Linked DNA regions of Homo sapiens: all the other regions are linked to region 4. Evidence: promoter capture Hi-C in human tissues and cell types (Jung and others, 2019). All regions are on one chromosome and are shown on one strand. Each heading gives the region's core, a stretch centred on a gene start or on the middle of the fragment in contact. The rest is flanking DNA. Distances are from core to core; before and after follow the strand shown.

The links. The method cuts DNA at HindIII sites, captures the fragments that hold promoters and counts their contacts. A contact is called where the count stands out against the background at its distance.
Region 1: a contact is called between a fragment that was not itself captured here and the fragment with the promoter of C1QTNF1-AS1 in region 4, in 2 of the 25 tissues and cell types used here (mesendoderm cells and thymus).
Region 2: a fragment that was not itself captured here is called in contact with the fragment with the promoter of C1QTNF1-AS1 in region 4 in 2 of the 25 tissues and cell types used here (liver and lymphoblastoid cells).
Region 3: a fragment that was not itself captured here is called in contact with the fragment with the promoter of C1QTNF1-AS1 in region 4 in 1 of the 25 tissues and cell types used here (dorsolateral prefrontal cortex).

What each region holds. Positions count from the first base shown.
Region 1 is chr17:79,313,950-79,318,898 of GRCh38, forward strand. The region is part of intron 2 of RBFOX3 (RNA binding fox-1 homolog 3); the gene reads right to left. Among named protein-coding and RNA genes, the nearest start is that of ENGASE, 240 kb to the left of the region's middle. The HindIII fragment of the contact is 6,078 bases long and covers 162-4,949 here.
Region 2 is chr17:79,289,174-79,293,854 of GRCh38, forward strand. All of the region lies in intron 3 of RBFOX3 (RNA binding fox-1 homolog 3), which reads right to left. Among named protein-coding and RNA genes, the nearest start is that of ENGASE, 220 kb to the left of the region's middle. The HindIII fragment of the contact is 8,478 bases long and covers 1-4,681 here.
Region 3 is chr17:79,356,052-79,360,572 of GRCh38, forward strand. All of the region lies in intron 2 of RBFOX3 (RNA binding fox-1 homolog 3), which reads right to left. Among named protein-coding and RNA genes, the nearest start is that of RBFOX3, 250 kb to the right of the region's middle. The HindIII fragment of the contact is 4,584 bases long and covers 1-3,910 here.
Region 4 is chr17:79,026,096-79,031,132 of GRCh38, forward strand. C1QTNF1-AS1 (C1QTNF1 antisense RNA 1) reads right to left here and starts at 1,560. Exons shown (of 3, transcript NR_040019.1): 1 at 1,281-1,560. All of the region lies in intron 1 of C1QTNF1 (C1q and TNF related 1), which reads left to right. The HindIII fragment of the contact is 4,721 bases long and covers 1,538-5,037 here.

The DNA of each region.
Region 1 (4,949 bases), core at 1,951-4,450, 290 kb after region 4:
GTCCGGCTCTTGCCCGCAACTGCTGGGAGGGTCCTGCAAACTGGCCTGGGGGCTCAGGTAGCCAGGTGGCCTCAGAGGGCAGCGAGTGGTCACAGCCCCCACATGGTGTTTCAGTCACAGGCTCATGATCATTCATGGAGGGGGCTACAGACAATGGGGTCTAACAAGAAAGCCCAAAAGTTTCTGAATGGGTCACTCTTGTTGTTTTTTTACTAAAAGGGCTTTACGTTTTGCTCTAAATCTTTCTGAGGTGCAGGCTGCTTTCCCGAGTGACAAAGTAGGAGCTGGGGTAACCATGGCTCCCTGGGAGTGTGCAGGACCCCCAAACCTGCTGAGAAGCAGAGGAGAGAGGCATGGCAGTCAGGCAGCTCCAACAAACACAACACACCAGAGCTGGGCTCTCTCGTGGGCACAGTGAGAACGATCGGCCTCAGCATCAGTGATGCTGGGAGGAGACTGAGATCGCATACGGAGCTGGTGGGATAGGCAGGTGCAGATGGCCTCGCAGGACCTGGACAAGATCGGCCACTCACAGCCAGGTCCACGCCTGAGACAGGAGACAGCCACCAAGACTCTCACTCGGCATTCTCTGAAATAGCTGCACTTTGCAAACCACTGGGAGTTTCATGAATGAAAGAGTGGACAAAGAAAATGGGGCAGGTTTCTAAGTCAGATTCTCCACAGTAGATAAAAGGAACGTATCAGAAACACACCAGAGCTGCAGAAACCATGTTCAGTCAAAGAGGTGAGTTGCAGGAAGAGGCCATGCATGTGCATTTGAAGAAGACATAAAACAGTGTGAGCTCTGGTCCACGCTTACATGTGTGTATAAATGTTTTTCTCAAGGGACAGAAATAATAGATGCCAAATCGATGCTCAGAGCGGCCTCTGGGTGTAGGGGAGGGGAACGGGGCTGGGTGTGCTGGAGGGGACTTGGACTTTGTCTGTGATCCTTCCTTTTTTTTTTTTTTTTAAGACTAATGCAAGAGAACAAAGTGTTAGTTATTGTTAATTGCAGGTAGAGGAGGATAGATATTTATCTTTTACCTTAATTATAAAAATTCTCCAAAAATTTTTTGAGACGAGCATGGTTAGATTGATGGCCCGCTGCAGGAGTGAGAGACCCTGATTATACATGCGTGACACAAAGCTGGTGTCAAAGCACAGTGTTTTCTATGATTAGTGGCTCTGTAGAATCTCACCGGCTGGTGGCCTGACGACCAAGTAAATGGATGACGTACACGATGGAGTGATTCCGGAGGGAGCCACTTCCCAAGAGGAAGTAAAACCATTTCATCCCTAGTGATGGCCTCCAGACTCTAGACCATCCATGTCTCCAGGAGGTAGGCTCCCCTGCATCCTTCTCTCTGGGGACCCAGACCCTGGTCTTCTGAGCAAAGCATTCTCCATACCGAGAAGGAGGCCAGAAAGTGCTGGATGCAGAGGCGGCTTTTCCCTCTTCTCACACCACCATCTGCAGGCCGACAAGGAAGTCAGAGGGGACGTGAAAAGAGCCACCTCTCCCATCCCCCGACAGATGGGACCCGCAGGGGTAGGGGAAGAGCGGTGTCTCCCAGGCCGCGCCTTCACACTTGCTGGCCACTGCGGCCAGACAGATGTGCACCCTGGTCCTTGCTTTGATCTCACACGGTTACACTTTCAGTGTTACAAGCTCATAAAAGCCACGTGATCAAATTCCAGGTCATTACTCAAGGAAAGGGACCCCTCTGTGGTCGACAGCGACAGTTTCAAACCAATTAAAATAAGCCTGGCGTTTCTGCGGGCTGCCGCCCGTGCCGCCACCCTGGGGGTCTCTGAGGGCCTTGCTTGCAATGAGCAAGATGCAGGAAATGTTAATGGAGACGCTTAAATGGCGCGCCGAGGGGATTCTGGTAAATAAGGCCACGCGGAAGGGGCTGGGGAGAGGCCTCCCGAGCTAACCCTGGAGGAAACTTCAATAAACACGAGATTGGATTGGAAACAATTCACTCCGCAAGGGGTGGGTCCGCCAGCAGCTCTGGGAGGGGTCTTTGGGGGAGGAAAGCTATTTCATTCCCTATTAGTTCCCCTTTGCAAGTATCTGTGCCCCCTGCTGCTGGCACTGGAATCTGCCAAGGCTCGACAGCACCCACTGAGCAGGCTGGGAGCACCAGGGTATAATTTGCCAAGTAAAAATTGGAGAGGGCGGGAGAGGCTGCGCGGAAGAGGAGAAGGGGTGGCTGGTGATGGTGGAGGGTGGAGGGGCTGGGGCTGAGGACGAGGCCATGCAGTGGCTTTGTGACTGTCTGGCAGGTGCTCTGAACTCTGCAGGATCCTGTTTCGGGAAGATCGAACGTCACCCATGAAACAAACAGAGAAGTTTCCAGAGAACACCACCCCAAGCCCAGGCCAGCATGTAGATGGGGCCAGGCCAGCAGGCTGTGGTCGGTGCTGTCCAGCTCAGTACAGACTCAGGGCCCACCTGAGTTGTGGGCAGCCCTCCTTGGGCAGGGGCGATGGCTCCCACCTCTGCTCCCAGCCAGGGACTGTTACTCAGGATGTGGGCAGCTCGTCGCTCTGCTCAATGCAATGGAAGGAGCTCCAAACGTGAGAAAGGGAAGGGAGGTCTTGAGCAAAATGAGGAGCCTGGGCCACACAGCCTGTGTCCTTCCTCCCAGAGCCCCTCCCCACAAGGCCACCACGGCCCCAGACCCCTGCACATCTGCTTTTGTGGGCCTAATCTTACAGCCGAAATAGCAAACCTCATTCCAGTGACAGTTTCCACATTTAGGAAATAAAACCCCTGGATATGCAGTTAAATTAGAAATTTCAGATAACAGATAATGTTTTCATTGTTTTAGTATAAGTTCATACCATGCAATATTTGGGAAGTACTTATATTAATTTTTCATTGCTTATCTGATATTCACATTTAACCAGTCACCCTGTGTTTTTATTTGGCAGCCCTAGCTTCCAACTGCCTGATTACCCAGGCTAAACACACACAGGTGCACATATGCCTGCACACAAGATATGCACACTCACCCGCAAATGTGCATGTGCACGCACACACACAGATGTGCACGGACACGTGCACATACACATCCTTCAAAGAAAGGAGCTGACCCTCCATGAAGACCGACAAGGAGCTGGCATTTCCCATATGCTCCCTCATGGAACACTCCTCCCATCTCCCCCACGGCCACCCCCCTCATTCAGACAAAGAGGTGCAGGCTCCAATTGCCACTTTCTCAAGGCCACACAGTCAGCATATGGCCCGGCTGAAATTGCAGACCCAGTTCATTCGTATTCCAAAGTCTGCACTCTTTCCACCAAACCAGACCCAATACATCAAATTTTAGATGTTTCTTTTCAAACAGAACGGCCATAAGGAAGTTGCTATTGATTCTGCAGTCAGGCCAATGGCCTTGGCTCAGACCCACACGGACCTCAGAACAAAGACGCAGATTTGAGCTGGTGAAGCCCCCACGGGTTCAGCCTCACCAGGGTTCACCTGTGGGGCTCAGGGTGAGCACATCTGGCTTCCACACAGAGGCTGGTGGTTTGGGTCCACCCTGGAGGGTTCTGCTGGCAATTGAGTCCTGAGCAGGCACTGGCAGCAGCACCGATGCCCGTGGCAGGGCCTTCTAGTGAAGGGGATGTTTCTCCCCTGGACGTGGTCTCAAACTCAAAGGGGACAAACACAGACTTGAAATTGTCTGCAAATTGGCAAGGAATCCCTAAACTCTGGCTTCCACTAATTAACTAGCTGCTTTCCAGGTAACTAGTAGGTACTTTAGGCACTTGTTATGTAAGAATCACAATCTTAAAAAAAAAAAAGTTGCAATGTTCGATGAGGCCATGGTGAACCTAAGGGTGCCACCTTGTCTACCTGGGCCATCACTCGGCAGGCAAAGAGATTCGATCTGGCTGGCAAATCTTGTTCTTTATGTGAGCAGGACAATTCTCAAGTAACATGCTAACTTCCCTATCTTGAGTTGTCGGTTTCATGATTATTTTTCTAGGAATGGAAGTTAAGCTTGCCGCTTCATCATTTCTAGAAATGTCTTTACCCCCTTTAAAAAAACTGTCTGTGGATTGGGAAAAACCTCCAGCCCCTTGTTACTCAGGCCTCATCTCCTAAACTGCCTGGCTGCTGCTGACAAAGTTGCTGAGTAGACAGAGCTTACAACTGGGGAGGTGTCAGCCGGAGCCCTTGCCATGGTGATGGCTGATTCCTATCATGAGTGGAACAGGAGCATTTTGGGCCTGAAGATCTGGATGCTCCGGGTGGTGTTTGCTCAGCCAGCAGCCAAGAAGTCCAGCAAGGAGGGAAGAGGAGAAGGAGGTCTGTGTGCTTCACCCAAAACTCCAGCACGGAGGATGCTGCTGAGCCAAAACCCAGGAGATGAAACTGCTGGGGGCAGAGGAGCTGGGGAGGTCTGGGAAATACAAACAGCAGCAAATCTCCCCACTTTATCTTCATAGCCACCACCCCTTACACCATATGGCTCCCCCTCTCAGCAATGCAGTTGAGCAACGGTCTCAGCCATACCATAGTGGTGAGGGTTTCATGATTTGCCTAATGAGAGGTCTTACTGGCAAATTTCATACTAAGAGTTGGATGTTGAAATTTGACTGTGGGGCCACGTGCGGTGGCTCATGCCTGTAATCCCAGCACATTGGGAGGCTGAGGCAGGTGGATCACGAGGTCAGGAGATCTAGACCATCCTGGCTAACACGGCGAAACCCTGTCTCTACTAAAATTACAAAAAAATTAGCTGAGTGTGGTGGTGGGCGCCTGCAGTCCCGGCTACTTGGAAGGCTGAGGCAGGAGAATGGTGTGAACCCGGGAGGCAAAGTTTGCAGTGAGCCGAGATTGCGCCACTGCACTCCAGCCTGGGTGACAGAGCGAGACTCCATCTCAAAAAAAAAAAAAAAAAAAAAAAAAAGGGATGGAGGGAGGGATA
Region 2 (4,681 bases), core at 1,563-4,062, 260 kb after region 4:
ACGTTCCGCACAGCCTCTGCCCACGTCGTAGTCTCAGGCCCGAGTCGGCGGGTTAGGTGTGGCAAGAGCCATCTGGAGCCCTGTGGCTGGCCCAAGCTTCAGTCCCTTCAAGCCAGAGAGATGGGGAAGGTTAGAGTATTCTCCAAAACTCAGGCCTGTTTCTGCCCCGGCCCTTAGTGTCGACACCCAGGACCAGCTTTGTAGACCAGTGAGCACTGGGACCCGGCAGCCTCGCCAGCCATCAGCAGCCACAGAAGGAACCCAGTACCCAGTCCCCATCAAGCCCTTGACTGGCCTTTGCCCCTGACTTCAGAGCTGAGGTCCCCAGAAATTATCTGTCTTTTCTGTTTAAGCCACAGCTTCCCCTGACTTCTTCCTTTTGTGTTGGTGACAGCCCAGGGACTGTGCTTTTTCCAGACACGATGTTAACTCTCTGGTCCTACTTCCTGGCTCAGGGGACAGCCCTTTGGGGCTTTCCCCCTTTGGCATCATCTTTAAAGCTGCTTCCTGCACTCAAAGCTGCCTCCCAGCTCCTGGCCTCTGGTTTAGAGCTTCCCCCAGAAAGTGGCGTATTTTATCTTTATGTGTCAGGATTTATATAAAAAGGGGATAGTTCAACTCTAAATGTAATGAGTTGGAAGAACAGCTCTCTGGTGGCTTTCTGTAGTGAACATGACATCAATAACATTGATTGCTAAAAATAACTAATAACACTGGGCTATAACTAATAACACTGGGTGGCCAGGGACTGCTCCAACCCTACCCCTAAAATGGATGAAAGGGAAACAGGCCCTTGCCTCCAAACAGACACACCTCCAACAGGTGAGTTCCCAGAGGGTTCAGACAGAAGGTGGAGGAGAAGCAAGATGCCCAGGGGGTCTGAAGGGGTGAGCAGAAGTTTTTCAGGCACTGGAAGCTCCTTGGAGGGCAGGCAGGTGGTGGGAGACAAGCACATGCTGTAGGGGGGTCCTCACATACCAGTGTGAGACACACATGTCTGGAAGGGGAACCTTCTCAAGCTGGAGGAGGCATCATAGAGCCTTGTGAAGGAGGCCTCTTGGGAGGCCCATGAAGATGGCAAAGGAAAAGGGAAGGAAGGAATGAGAGGCAGGATGGCTCGTGGCTAGGAATGCAGGCTCTGGGGTGAGCCAGCTGGGTTGGAGTCCTTGCTAGCTGTGTGGGCCCGGGTAAGCCATCGAGCCTCTAAGGGCCTCATTTTCCCCATCTGGAAAGTAGAGATTCGTGATTTTCCATATGCTGTGACGGTGTCATGGGCTTCCCATGAGGACCCGAAAGCACAGCCTATGTGTGGCTCTTCGCCTCATGCCTGGTGCCTGGGAAGTGGTTCAACACATGCCTGCCGTTGCCACGTCCCTTCTCGGTATAGCCAAGGGAAGGGCTCTGAGAGCTAGCAGTTAGCAAATGGAGTCTGAGGTTGACCCACGTGACCCTTGCTAAGGGCCTTCTGAGGTCAGGCCCGAGGGAAATAAATGATATTTAGGATGAATGTTTACCAAAATCAGAGAAGCAATCATTTCTGACAAGGCAGACGGACAGGCATAGTTACATACATCTCATCGAGCCTCCAGAGGCTTCTCCTCTGGGTTTGCTGACTGGTGGCTGGAGAGGCTCTACCTTACACACAAAATCAATTCTTCCATGCCCTCAGCCCTGGCCACTCTGCCCTTGACACCCTGGCTGCGTTCTCCCAGAAATAGCTGTGTGCTTGGATTGGAATCTGCTGGGGCGAGGGGCAGCTGCAGCAGGCAGCTCAGCTCAGCTCAGCCTGCGTGGCTCTCTGCCTTTCTGGAAGGATTAGCTTGCCTAACCTCTCCCAGTGCTTCCCACCCCTCTCCTGGGACTTTGGGAGAGGAAAGGCAAATGAAAGGTGTGGTGTTGGGGGCTGGAGGAAAGAAAGACCATGATAAAATGCCAGCCTGCAGTTGAGGAAGAAAGTTATTTAGTGGGTCAAAAATGAGTCAAAGTTTATAGAGAAGAAATGACATGTTTTAAAATTAATAGCATAAATGTCAACTCTGATGGCCAGGGCATTAAACCATAGGATCAATGGAGCATTCTTTGTGAGGTTATTTTCTCTCTCAGATGTGCCCTGGGTGTGGGGAAAAGAGCGAGAGCTCGCTCTGCGGTGCCACATTTTGGATTCTGGGGTAGCTCCATCAGCTAGGTTACAGTGTGAGAGATAAGAAAGTTGCTATGAGGCTGTGTTCAGTTGGCTGGTCTGCATGGAGCTGACATTAAATACAGTAGGAATCTGCAGCCCTCGGCTTCAAGTGTGGGGATTTATTGAAGTCTTGCAAAAGCTCTTGGTCAGGGATGCTCCTCCCCTGGGCAGGAAGAATGGGGCTGAGGGCACACTCAGAACCCTGTGTCATGCATCCACCCCTTGAGCCTCACAGTCCCTTATTGCATCAGTAACAGGGTCTGCAGAGCCGGAATGGCTCACTGCCCAGGGAGGCAGGACCAAACAGGGAGTTTTCTCTGAAGTCTGCCTTGATCTCTGTTCTCAGGGACAGGCAGCAGTGTGGAAGAGCCCCTGCGTTCACAGAACACAGAGAGTACACAGCCCCTCTCCCCTGGCAACTCTTGGAGCCTTTCTAGATGACCTCATGTGGTTCCCCTCTGTTCAGGAGCAAGCAAGGGAACTACCTTTGCAGGTTGGCTATGAGAAACTAGGGCGCCACATGATTTAGCTAATTCCAACACAAAAGCTTCACCACGGAGCTGAACCTTGAATTTCACAACGCCCAAGTCTCAATCCTGGGTTGGAGGCATGGGTTTAACTACAGCCAGCCTCCACCCCTACTTAGATGCTGTAGCTTAGGACCCCCAAAGCCAGCCACGGAGCTCTCTCACCAATTTACCCCACCCCTCATTCCAGGGCTTTCTCTGGTGATCAGTATTTTGGGGTTGCTCTGAATTACTATGAATCTTCCAGTAATCATATTGTGGTAATAGAGGGGTTGCCTGAAAACCACAGGAAGCCAGGAGATGCCTGGTGCCAGGACACTTCACAGGACCTGAAGAACAGCTTCAGGTGAGGACTAAGAGCAAAACCAGGGTAAGGAAGGGCAGAGAAAATCCCACTCGTGTGCATCTTCACAGACCCCACGAGTGTCAGGACCCCGCATGCCTCCAGTATAGAATTTATTCTATTGTGCCTTCCTTGTCTCCCCACTAACCAAGAGCAACCAGGGGACCAGTGCTGTCTCCCCACTAACCAAGAGCAACCAGGGGACAAGGGGACTGTGGCACCAGTCACTAGCATGTCCCCGGCACATGGAAGGTTCTCAATGAATACTGGTTGAAAAAAGGAATTAAAATGTTAGTCTATAATGGAACATGTTTACACTCACACTTACAGTTGGCACTGTACACACACACACACACATGCACACACACACACACGCACACACACACACACATACATGCAGACCCAGTGCACTGCCCTTAGAAGTGTTTGATGCTGCGAAGGACAGCATGGGCTGCTTTCGCTGTGTAATGAGGGAACAGCAGTATGCCAAATGCTTAGAAGAGATCCTTTTGCTTTCTTTCCTCCGCTCAATTCTGCCGCTAGAGACCCTACTGTTGTATTCTGATTTCACCAACATGAAACTGCATTTGGGGGAAAAAATCACCCATTCCCTTTATATTAGGAAAGTAAGAAGCAAACAGACTTCGTTTTGGAATTTGGCCTTTGTTTTGGGAGTTGGTATAAAAGACAATTCCTCCCTGGAGGTTTTGCTTTGGTTTTATGGGGTTTTTATACCTGCCCCCACCTTCCATCCCCCTTGAAAAGAGGCCCCTGAAGAGTTTGCTTGGCTGGAACATCACAGACCAAAGTCTGAGAACTGCTTCTATTTTACAGTGCCACTGTTAGTAATGCCTCATATGTATATTATATTTCATAGTTTTTCAAAGCCACTTAAAAGTATGGCCTCATTTGACCCTTCCATCAGACCTAGATGGTCAACAGAGCACATCTCATTATCTCCGTTTAACAGGTAAGAAAACTGAGAATTTAGAGGGTAAAGTGACCTGCTCAAGCCCACATGGGGCCAACAAAAATGTTCCAAGTTACTCATCTGCTGCTCACATCAAGACCGATCTTTGCTTCCTTCCTTCCTTCTTTCCTTCCCTGCCTCCCTCCCTTCCTTCCCTGCCTCCCTCCCCTCCCCCTCCCTCCCCTCCCTTTCCTTTCCCTTCCCTCCCCTCCACCCCTTCCTTCCTTCCTTCCTTCCTTCCTTCCTTCCTTCCTTCCTTCCTTCCTTCCTTCCCTTCCTTCCTGTCTCACTCTGTCTCCCAGGCTGGAGTGCAGTGGCACAATCTTGGCTCATTGCAACCTCCACCTTCTGGGTTCAAGTGATTCTCCTGCCTCAGCCTCCTGAGTAGCTGGGATTACAGACTTGCACCACCATGCCTGGCTAATTTTTGTATTTTTAGTAGAGACGGGGTTTCACCATGTTGGCTGGGCTGGTCTCGAACTCCTGGCCTCAGGTGATCTGCCTGCCTTGGCCTCCCAAAGTGCTGGGATTACAGGCATGAGCCACTTGCCCAGCCTGAGCCATTCTTGCTTTAGATAACCTGCTGCTTTGGGGGCTGACAGATAAGCAGGAAGGCTGCCCTGTAGCAGCGGCAAGGTCCACAAATAAGCCAGATGAAG
Region 3 (4,521 bases), core at 369-2,868, 330 kb after region 4:
GAATTAGAGCATGAATGTGGGGATGTGCTTTGGGGCGTTCACCCCAACTGAAGTCTAAGCTCAAGTGTTCTTGGCTCTTGACTTTTGGCAAGAACTTGAGCTGACGTCGGTCCTGCCTGCTGCCTGAATGTTCCTGCTTGTGAAACTTGGAGAGGCATGTTCTCCCAGGAGCAGGACATACTTGCAGACCCTCCTGCAGACGGGGTGGGGGAGAGAGGAGGCACTTGATCCCACCTGGGCAATGCCAAGGTACCTCTGCCGTGAGGCACGTACTTTTTCACTTTTAAAACAGGGAAGTTTTTTTTTTTTTTTTTTTTTTTTTTTTTTTTTTTTTTGAGGAGGAGTCTCACTCTGTCACCCAGGCTAGAGTGCTGTGGCACAATCTTGGCTTACTGCAAGCTCCACCTCCCAGGTTCAAGCGATTCTCCTGCCTCAGCCTCCCAGGTAGCTGGGATTACAGGTGCCTGACACCATGTCCAGCTAATTTTTGTATTTTTATTAGAGGCAGGGTTTCACCATGTTGGCCAGGCTGGTCTTGAACTCCTGACCTCAGGTGACCCACCCACCTTGGCCTCCCAAAGTGCTAGGATTACAGGCATGAGCCACTGTGCCCAGCCAGTTTTGATTTTTTTTTTTATGCCATCAGAGAAGGACATAATTTAGTGATAGGTGTGAATAACTATTTGGGAAATAATTTCTTTCCTAAAATATGTCCAGAGAGAGACCAAAGGTAAGAATTTGTTGGGAAGAATCATGAAAAGTCAGTTTTCACCTTGCAGTTACAAAGGTGTCAAAAGTGCAGCCGGGCCTGCCTGGGCCAGCCACTGCCCCTGCTGCAACTCCGTCCCCCTCAGCCAGCTCCTGTCGGGCTGAGCCTCCCAGTGGCACTGAGATGGGACACTTGGCTACCCACCTCTTGCTTGAGAAGCTATGTCCTAAAGTGTCCCCCTGAGCACTCACAACAGAGACTCGGCAGTGACAACTGGGGAGCCGGTGCCCTCCATGTGGCATTCCTGCTCTGTCCTAGCCCCACGGGGGCCCCAGACACGCCCACACCCGCTGGTGACAAACTCGGCCTCCCCGGGTGCTGTGGCTGCTGCTCTTGCACACACATCCTAAAACGCAAACACAAGCAGGCTGTACGCACATGTAGAGTGTCTGTGCTTGCACATGAGCACACTCGCCTTTAAGCAGAAAGAGCGCCACTTGTAAGCTGCCCAAAAACGAAACAAAACAAACACTAGCCAGGAGCAAAAGTAAAGCTTCATTCCAATGTTTAAAAAACTCTGAAAGAGGCTGGGAGCTGTGGTTCACGCCTGTAATCCCAGTACTTTGGGAGGCCAAGGCAGGTGAATCACCTGAGGTCAGGAGCTTGAGACTTGCCTGGTCAACATGGTGAAACCCTGTCTCTATTAAAAATATAAAAAAAATTAGCTGGGTGTGGTGGCGCACGCCTGTAGTCCCAGCTACTTGGGAGGCTGAGGCAGGAGGATCACTTGAACCCAGGAGGTGGAGGTTGCAGTGAGCCGAGATTGCACCACTGCACTCCAGCCTGGGCGACAGAGCAAAACTCTGTCTCAAAACAAACAAACAAACAAAAAACAAACTCTGAAAGACGACTTCACTCCTCATGCTAAATGAAAAGGCAAGAGTTTAAAGCGCAGGGGGGCGGTATAGGGGGGTGGTGAAGAATGAAGTGCGTTTGTTGAATTTGTAAAAAGACAGAGAAATATTTTGTTACCTCAAGGGTGTTTTTTTTTTATTTACTGCTTTCCAAGTCAATACAAATGTTTACCAATTAAGTTCATTTTTTTAAAAAATCAGTAAATTGAAGTTTTTTTTTTACTTTAGTATTTAAGTAACTTCCACTTACCAGATCCCAAACAAGCTATTATTATTATTATTATATATTATTATTATTGACAGCATCTTGCTCTGTCACTGGAGTACAGTGGCACATTCATAGCTCATCATAACCCTGGGCTCCTGGGCTCAAGCAACCCTCCTGTCTCAGCCTCCCAAGTGGCTGGGACCACAGGCACACACCACCAGCCTAGCTAATTTTTATATTTTTTGTAGAGACAGGGTCCACCTATGTTGCCCAAGCTGGTCTCAAACACCTGGATTCAAGAGATCCTCCTGCCTTGGCCTCCCAAAGTGCTGGGATTACAGGTGTGACCAGTGTGCCTGGCCCCAAAGAAGCTATTTTTCATCCCTCTGGGACCTAACAACAGGCACAAGGGGGAAGGTAGTGAGCTAGAGCCGTCTTCCCCTCCCCAGCACTGGCGAGGATGCTCACGCCGTGGGGAGACCCCACCATCGGCACACTGCCCTCCCTTCTGACTCAGGCAAAATCCCACCTCCTCCATGAAACCCCTCAAGTCTACACTTCCTCTCATTTTTCTTTTCTTTCTTTTTCTCTTTTTTGAAATGGAGTTCTGCCCTGTCACTCAGGCTGGAGTGCAGTGGCATGATCTCGGCTTGCTGCAACCTCTACCTCCCGGGTTCAAGCAATTCCATTGCCTCAGTCAACCTAGTAGCTGGGATTACAGGTGTGCACCATCACGCCTGGCTAATTTTTGTATTTTTAGTAGAGAAGGGGTTTCACCATGTTGGCCAGGCTGGTCTCGAACTCCTGACCTCAGGTGATCTGCCTGTCTTGGCCTCCCAAAGTGCTGGGATTACAGGTGTGAGCCTCCGTGCTCGGCCTGGTTCTCTCTCTTTTCTGAGTTATAGTCACAGGCAGTGTTTCCAACACAGGGTGTGGCCATTCCATTTCGCCATCAGGATCCCTGGGTTTCTCATGTGTATCAGCTCTACCTTCCTGCCAATTGCTCGAGAGCCACTTGGGAACCAGAACAAAGTATCCTTCCCTCTTTTCCCAAGTGCCCCCAGAGGGCTCGCGCAGAGCAGACACCACGAGTGGCACAGGGAAGCTGCCCCCTGCCCCACACCCAGCCCAGGGAGGCACAGAGCACTGGAAACTTCCATGGGTGGGTTTGCACCAGGCCAGGTGTATCCATCAACACATCCTGTAATCCTCTCTACAACTGTATTTTATGAGTGAGGAAGTAAGATTCAAATGGGTTAGACGGATTTAAACGTATCCCTAATCCACCTCTTAATGACCCCACAGGCTCAGGGCAAGAGCTGAGGGGCTTGGCTGACTGCAGCGCCTACCCCGCCCCTCCCCAGGGCTGCCAGTGTTAGCAAAGAAAAATACAGGATATGCAGCTTAATTTGAGTTTCAGATAAACAACAAATAATTTGTAGTACTAGTCTATCTCAAATATGGCATGGAACATATTTACACTAAACACTATTCATTGTTAATCTGAAATTCAGATTTAACTGAGCAGCCTTTATTTTATCTAGCAAGCTACTCTCCACATCCTCCCCCACAAATTCCAAAGAGCATATTTTGCTGAAGGTGAGGCATAGCCTTCGAAGGAAGGGCACGGCACCTGCCTCCCCGCTGGCTCCTAATCTCTGCACCCAGACAGGCCAATCACATTTGAACAATTTAGCAGACACTCCTTGGAAGAGAAGAGAAAATCACCCACCTCTCCACCCCGACTAAGGCAGGACCATAGGATGGGGCTCCAGGGAGGGCTGGCTCTGCAGGGGCCTCTTGGTGGCTCTGCCAGGTTTGACTATCTCCTGCACTTCGTAATTTGGGTCATTTTTTTTTTTTGAGATAGGGTCTCACTCTGTTGCTCAGGGTGGAGTGCAGTGGTGATCAAAGCTCACTACAGCCTCAAACTCTTGGGCTCAAGTGATCCTCCCACCTCAGCCTCCTGAGCAGCAAGGACTACAGGTGCACGCCACCATGCCTGGTTAATTTTTGTATTATTTGTAGACAGGGGGTCTGGCTCTGTTGCCCAGGCTGATCTCGAACTCCAGGGCTCAAGCAATACTCCTGCCTTGGCCTCTCAAAGTGCTGGAATTACAGGCGTGAGCTCCCATGCCCGGCCTAGGTCATTGATGTTTCTTTATTTTTTTTTTCATGTTGGTATTCAGTGTCCTTATGACTGGGTGTTTGCCTTTTCTCTTTCCGACCTCCATGCACCTTAACTTCATGAAACATAGCAAGCATGCTGTGCTCATGAAACAAAAATACTTCATGGTACTGGAGGTTTTTAGGGGTGTGGCCAGCTAGCCCAGCTTCCCACCCTTACAACGATATCGATATCTGAAGCAACCAACAAAAGCAAAGCGAGGGTGCAGCAGTGAGCTTGGAAACAGAGAGCCTGGCCCATCAGCCTGGGCCTGCAGGGAACCAAGGAACCTGCAGGGAACCCTGCACCCAGCTGGGCACGCTCATCAGACTGCAATCCCGCCAACAGGTGCCACTGGAAGCTGCTCACCAGCCCCGCCAAGCGCCGCACCCTGGGGCCCCCACCCGTCAGCTTCTGCAAAGGTGCCCGCGCTCAGCAGGGACGTGAACAGTTTTCTTGACACTCCATCCTCATTGAAGTGAAATCCACGCAGCCAGCATCGGAGACGATGAAATGGGACAAG
Region 4 (5,037 bases), core at 310-2,809:
TCAGAGACAGGGATGGAGGACTCAAGACTCCAATCTGTGTCTTTATCCCAAGTGCGTCATATGCTTCTTTTTTTTTTTGAGACAGAGTTTCGCTTTTGTCATCCAGGCTGGAGTGCAAGGCCAAATCTCGGCTCACTGCAACCTCCACCTCCCAGGTTCAAGCGATTCTCCTGCCTCAGCCTCCCAAGTAGCTGGATTAGAGGTGTGTACCACCACGCCTGGCTAATTTTGTATTTTTAGTAGAGACTGGGTTTCACCCTGTTGGTCAGGCTGGTCTCAAACTCTTGACCTCAAGTGATCCACCCGCTTCAACCTTCCAAAGTGCTGGGATTACAGGGGTGAGCCACCGCGCCTGGCCTCCGGGGCGTATACTTTTAACCTTCCTATCTGGTGTTGGGAACATGGCACTCAGCTCGCCAAGCTGATGCTGGGAACTTCTCTCTCCCAGCTGCTAACAGAGAATGCCCAGGGGCAGGAAGGACACAGGTCCGCTACCCAGGGACTCTCTACTTCTCCTCCCGCCTCCCTCTCCTCCTCTTGTGTTGCCAAGGGTGGTGTCCCCAGTGAGCTCATTCAGGGAGGCAGGAAGCATGGTGCAGGAAGCCCTAGGTGGGCGCTGTGCGGCTACAGGACACCACTGCCCCTCCCAGGCAGGTGCAGCCAGCTGGCGAGGGACGTCCTCCCAAGTAGGAGCAGAGAAAGCCCAAGCTGTCCCAGGAAGGCCATGGGTTCCCTCCTTGTTCCTAGGAAGTGACCCCCCTTTTCAGGGCAACCAGGACAACAGAGTGTTTTTGGAACATGCTCCTTTCTGTTCTTCTTCCTGGTGCCTCCCCCCAGCTGTAATTAGCATGACTCATAAACCAAATATTCTGGCATTGAACTTTGCTCATCAAAACAAAGATGAAAAGAATTTCATAGATACAGTTGTGCGCAGGGACTGGAGCTTCCCATTTGTGTCTTGTCCTCAGGGGTCCCTGTTCCTGGGCGGGGGGGGGCTGTGGCTGAGGCTCCAGAACCTTAGGGAAGGGGTGGGGGTGACGGACACCAGGAAGGGCAGGAAGAAGTAGCAGGTTACACCATCCCCTGGACGATCCCACCTCTGCCTGACAATCAGTAGCCTCTAGAGATGTTCAAGTGGGGGCACTCCCTCATGGGCCACAGGTTGCCATTTCCCCTGTTAACCTGCTGAAATTGGCCTGCTGGTGTCAAATGGCACAAGGCAGCTCTCTGGACAGGACCCTGCCATCTCCCTGACCCCTTCATACAGGGCAAGAACTCACCTGCCCACTTTAGAGAGCAGTCTGGAAGAAACAGCGACGTCAGCTCAGCTCAACAATGTGTTTCCTTCAGGCTCTCTTGGGGCAGCCCAGCAAGCCGCTCTCATGAGCCAGGGATCCTTGGGGCCCTGTCCTGGGGTCTATGCTGGGGTCCTTGGCCTGGAAGGGCCAGTCCTGAGCTTAAGCAGGGACATGCAGGAGCAGGACATGCTCACTCCTTTCCTCCTTCCCGAGCCCCGCAGTGAGATGCTCCAACTGCTGCCGCTGCAGCCTCTAGTTCTCTGGGAGAGGCATGCGGTGTGAGCAGGAAGGGAGGGGCTTCGGAGCCATGTGGGAAGGATCTTTATCTCTGGGTCCTTGTCAAGGTCACGGCTGTGTGACACTTGTGCTGGGGTGATATGAGTGGCTCTTGGCAAATCAGCACCCCTCCAGCTGCCTGTTCTTGCCTACATTTGATTTCCAGAGCTGGGCTTGGCATCTGAATGTGGTTCAAAGGGGGATGGTCTCCAGCAGGGGCACGGGGACCCCCACAGTCCCCACTGTACACCAGGGCACTGCTATCTTGCCTCTGAGGCCCCCTGGATCTAAGCCGTTCTCCAGCTTCAGATGGGGCTGGCACAGACTGCAGGCCCCTCCCCGGGCCCCCATCCTGTCCAGGACGGCCGTCGGGACGGCTGTGGCCGGGCCGGTGTCTGCCCATCTCCCTGGCTCCTGTAGGAATTTTCCTTGACACGAGACAGAGTAGAGCAGGAGACGGCAGGCAGGGAGGCAGGAGTCGAGGGGAGGAGGAGAAGAGGCAGACAGGCAGGCGGGGCATGGGGAAGTCAAGTTCTTGGTGCCCTGTGCTGGGTCAAATGTTGTTCTTGGCCACGGCTAAAGCCACACTTGGTGGAATGCCCCAAACCCTATGCTTTGGGTTGTACCCATCCCCCTCAGCAAGACATCTGGATAACAGCCACCCTCTGCCCTGGGGAGCAGGGAAGCTGCTGGGAAAGCTGCCAGCCCTGGGTGGGTTCGAGGCAGATGTAGGTCAGAAGGCGGGCAGGGCCCCCTGACTCTGCCCACAGGTTCCTGGGGCCAGTCTTCAGAGCTGGGGACAGAGGTGTGTTCAGAAAACGCTTAGACCCATTCTCCTTGTAAAGAATCTAAAGTGAGAGATGGAAGGATCTGGGTGGGTTAGGGGGTGACCACAGGTCTCTTGCGTCCTCTGGCATTCAGGGGAGCCCCCTCCTCCATGAAAGGATATCAATGAGGGCAAGGCCCATGGTCCTGAGGGTCCTCCCCGTGTGGTGCGTGAACTTAGATTCCTTTGCAACTCAGAGCTCAGGTCTGCTTGTGCCCATTAGAGGGCACTGGTCGGGAGAGAAAAATCATCTGTACCCCAGCACATGGGTCTTTTCCTCCCTTCTTCAGAGCTTGCCAGCATGCTGGTGTCTCTTCACCCTACAAAAGCAGTGCCCTAAAAATGCACATCCGATGGGCCACACTGCCCAAGCCCCTCACATTTTAAGGTGTGTGTGTGTGTGTGTGTGTGTGTGTGCATGCACGCGCGGGTGTTCCTGGTGATCCTGTGCCTAAATCCAAAGGAATTAAACTCCGGTGGTGTATTTTAAGATGCTAGCAGGCTGGCACCAGGGATATCTTAGCACATTGCATCAAGGAAGATGGTTACAGGTTTCCCTGGTACCCCATACCATACCTGGCATGTAGTGGGCACTCGGTAATCCTCTGTTGAATGATGAATGCAAGGGCTCAGCTGCTGGATACAGTCCTCGAAGCCAAAGGCTGCTGCAGCGGTTCCACCTATAAACAAGTAAGCAAATTGGTGGGCACCGTAACCCTGAGCCCAGTGGGCGGGAACGGTCGCTGCACCATGGCTTGGGAGGAGGAGGAGCCTATGCTCTCTGGCATCTTTCTGGCCACCCCTCGGGGTGAAGTGTAATGTGCTTTGCTGTCGGACACACCTAGGTCTAATCTGAGCTCCAGCACCTCCCCACTGTGGAACCTGGGGCAAGCGGCTCCATCGCTCTGAGGCTGTTTGCGCATTCTAAGGATCAGGTATTCTAAGGATTAGGCATTCTAAGGATCAAGCTTTCTAAGGATCAAGCTCAGTGGTGTAGGGAAGGCACCATGGCCAGAGTCTGGCTCTCAGTGGTGGCTTTTCAGGGGTAGCGGGGCTTTGTCAGAAGGAATCTCTGATAAACATTGGGCTACTCCTGGGTCCAGGAACATGCTGGCCATTGCACATCACGCACAGGATGGGCTGCAGGACGGGGCTCCGTTTCCTTCTGTTTCACGGCTGCAGGCCACCGGCCCTACTCAGGCAGCCTCCTTCAACAGCAAGGGCCAAAGACGAACAAAGCCCCTCACTGCTAGGAAACGGGTTCTCTCTGGCTCGCCTAATTCCAGCCTGGATGAAGTGCCACCCTGCTGGGCTCCCTACCACCTGTGCTGTTCCTGGTCCTAACACATCCCATACCATAGCTGCCAGGGACTCTACTGCCCAAGGGAAAGGGCATCTTGTTCCGTTCGTCCCAAGAATCCAGCTCCCTGCTGGGTAGGTAGTAGACACTCAATAAACACCTGTTGAACAAATGAGCAAAAGAGCGTGAGACTTCAGCACTAGGTCAACTTGTATTCCCCGTGGTTCCGCTTGAGCCTCAAACGATGCAATATAACAAGCTCTCTTTTCTCCCCATCCTACTCTTCTATGCATCTAGTCGAGTTTCCTGGAATAAACAAAATGCTCCCTTAGTCCCCAGGGTGGGGCTTATTTGTCATTTTTCTAGTGGAAAATAATGTGTACTTACTGTGAAAAAGGACGTGACTGTTACAGGGGAAAGAAACAGAGAGGCCAAAATAAGAAAATGGTAAGCATCTGTATTTTCATCACCGCAGATAATTGCTGTTGGCAGCCTGGTGGGTGGCCTTTGGGTCTTTGTGGTTTTGTGTGTGTGTGTGTGTGTGTGTGTGTATGTGTATGTGTGTGCCTGTATGTGCGTGTGTTTGGGTCTGCATGTTTTCATTCTGCATTTTCAAAACTCATTACTGCTTTACAAACTTTCTCTCTCTTTCTTCTTTCTTTCTTTTCTTTCTTTCTTTCTTTCTTTCTTTTTCTTTCTTTCTTTCTTTCTTTCTTTCTTTCTTTCTTTCTTTCTTCTTTCTTTCTTTTTCTTTCTTTCCTCTCTTTCTCTCTCTCTTTTCCTTCCTTCCTTTCTTTTTCTTTTCTTTTCTTTTTCTTTTTTGAGACAGAGTCTTGCTATGTTGTCCGGGCTGGAGGGCAGTGGCGTGATCTCAGCTCACTGCAATCTCCATCTCCTGGGTTCAAGCGATTCTCCTGCCTCAGCCTTCCGACTAGCTGGGATTTTAGGCACACGCCACCACACCCAGCTAATTTTTGTACTTTTTAGTAGAGACGGGGTTTTACCATGTTGGTCAGGATGATATTGAACTCCTGACCTCAAGCGATCCGCCTGCCTCGGCCTCCCAGAGTGCTGGGATTACAGGCGTGAGCTACTGTGCCCGGCCCAAACATCTTTCCATGTCAGTAAATATTCACCTATTTACAGAGACGCCTAACTGGTGCTGCTGGCTGATTCTGCTCCCCAGTCCCTCCATATTATTTCTTTTCTTTTCTTTTTTTTTTTTTTTGAGATGGAGTCTTGCACTGTCGCCCAGGCTGGAGTGCAGTGGCATGATCTTGGCTCACTGCAAGCTCCACCTGACAGGTTCATGCCATTCTCCTGCCTCAGCCTCCCAA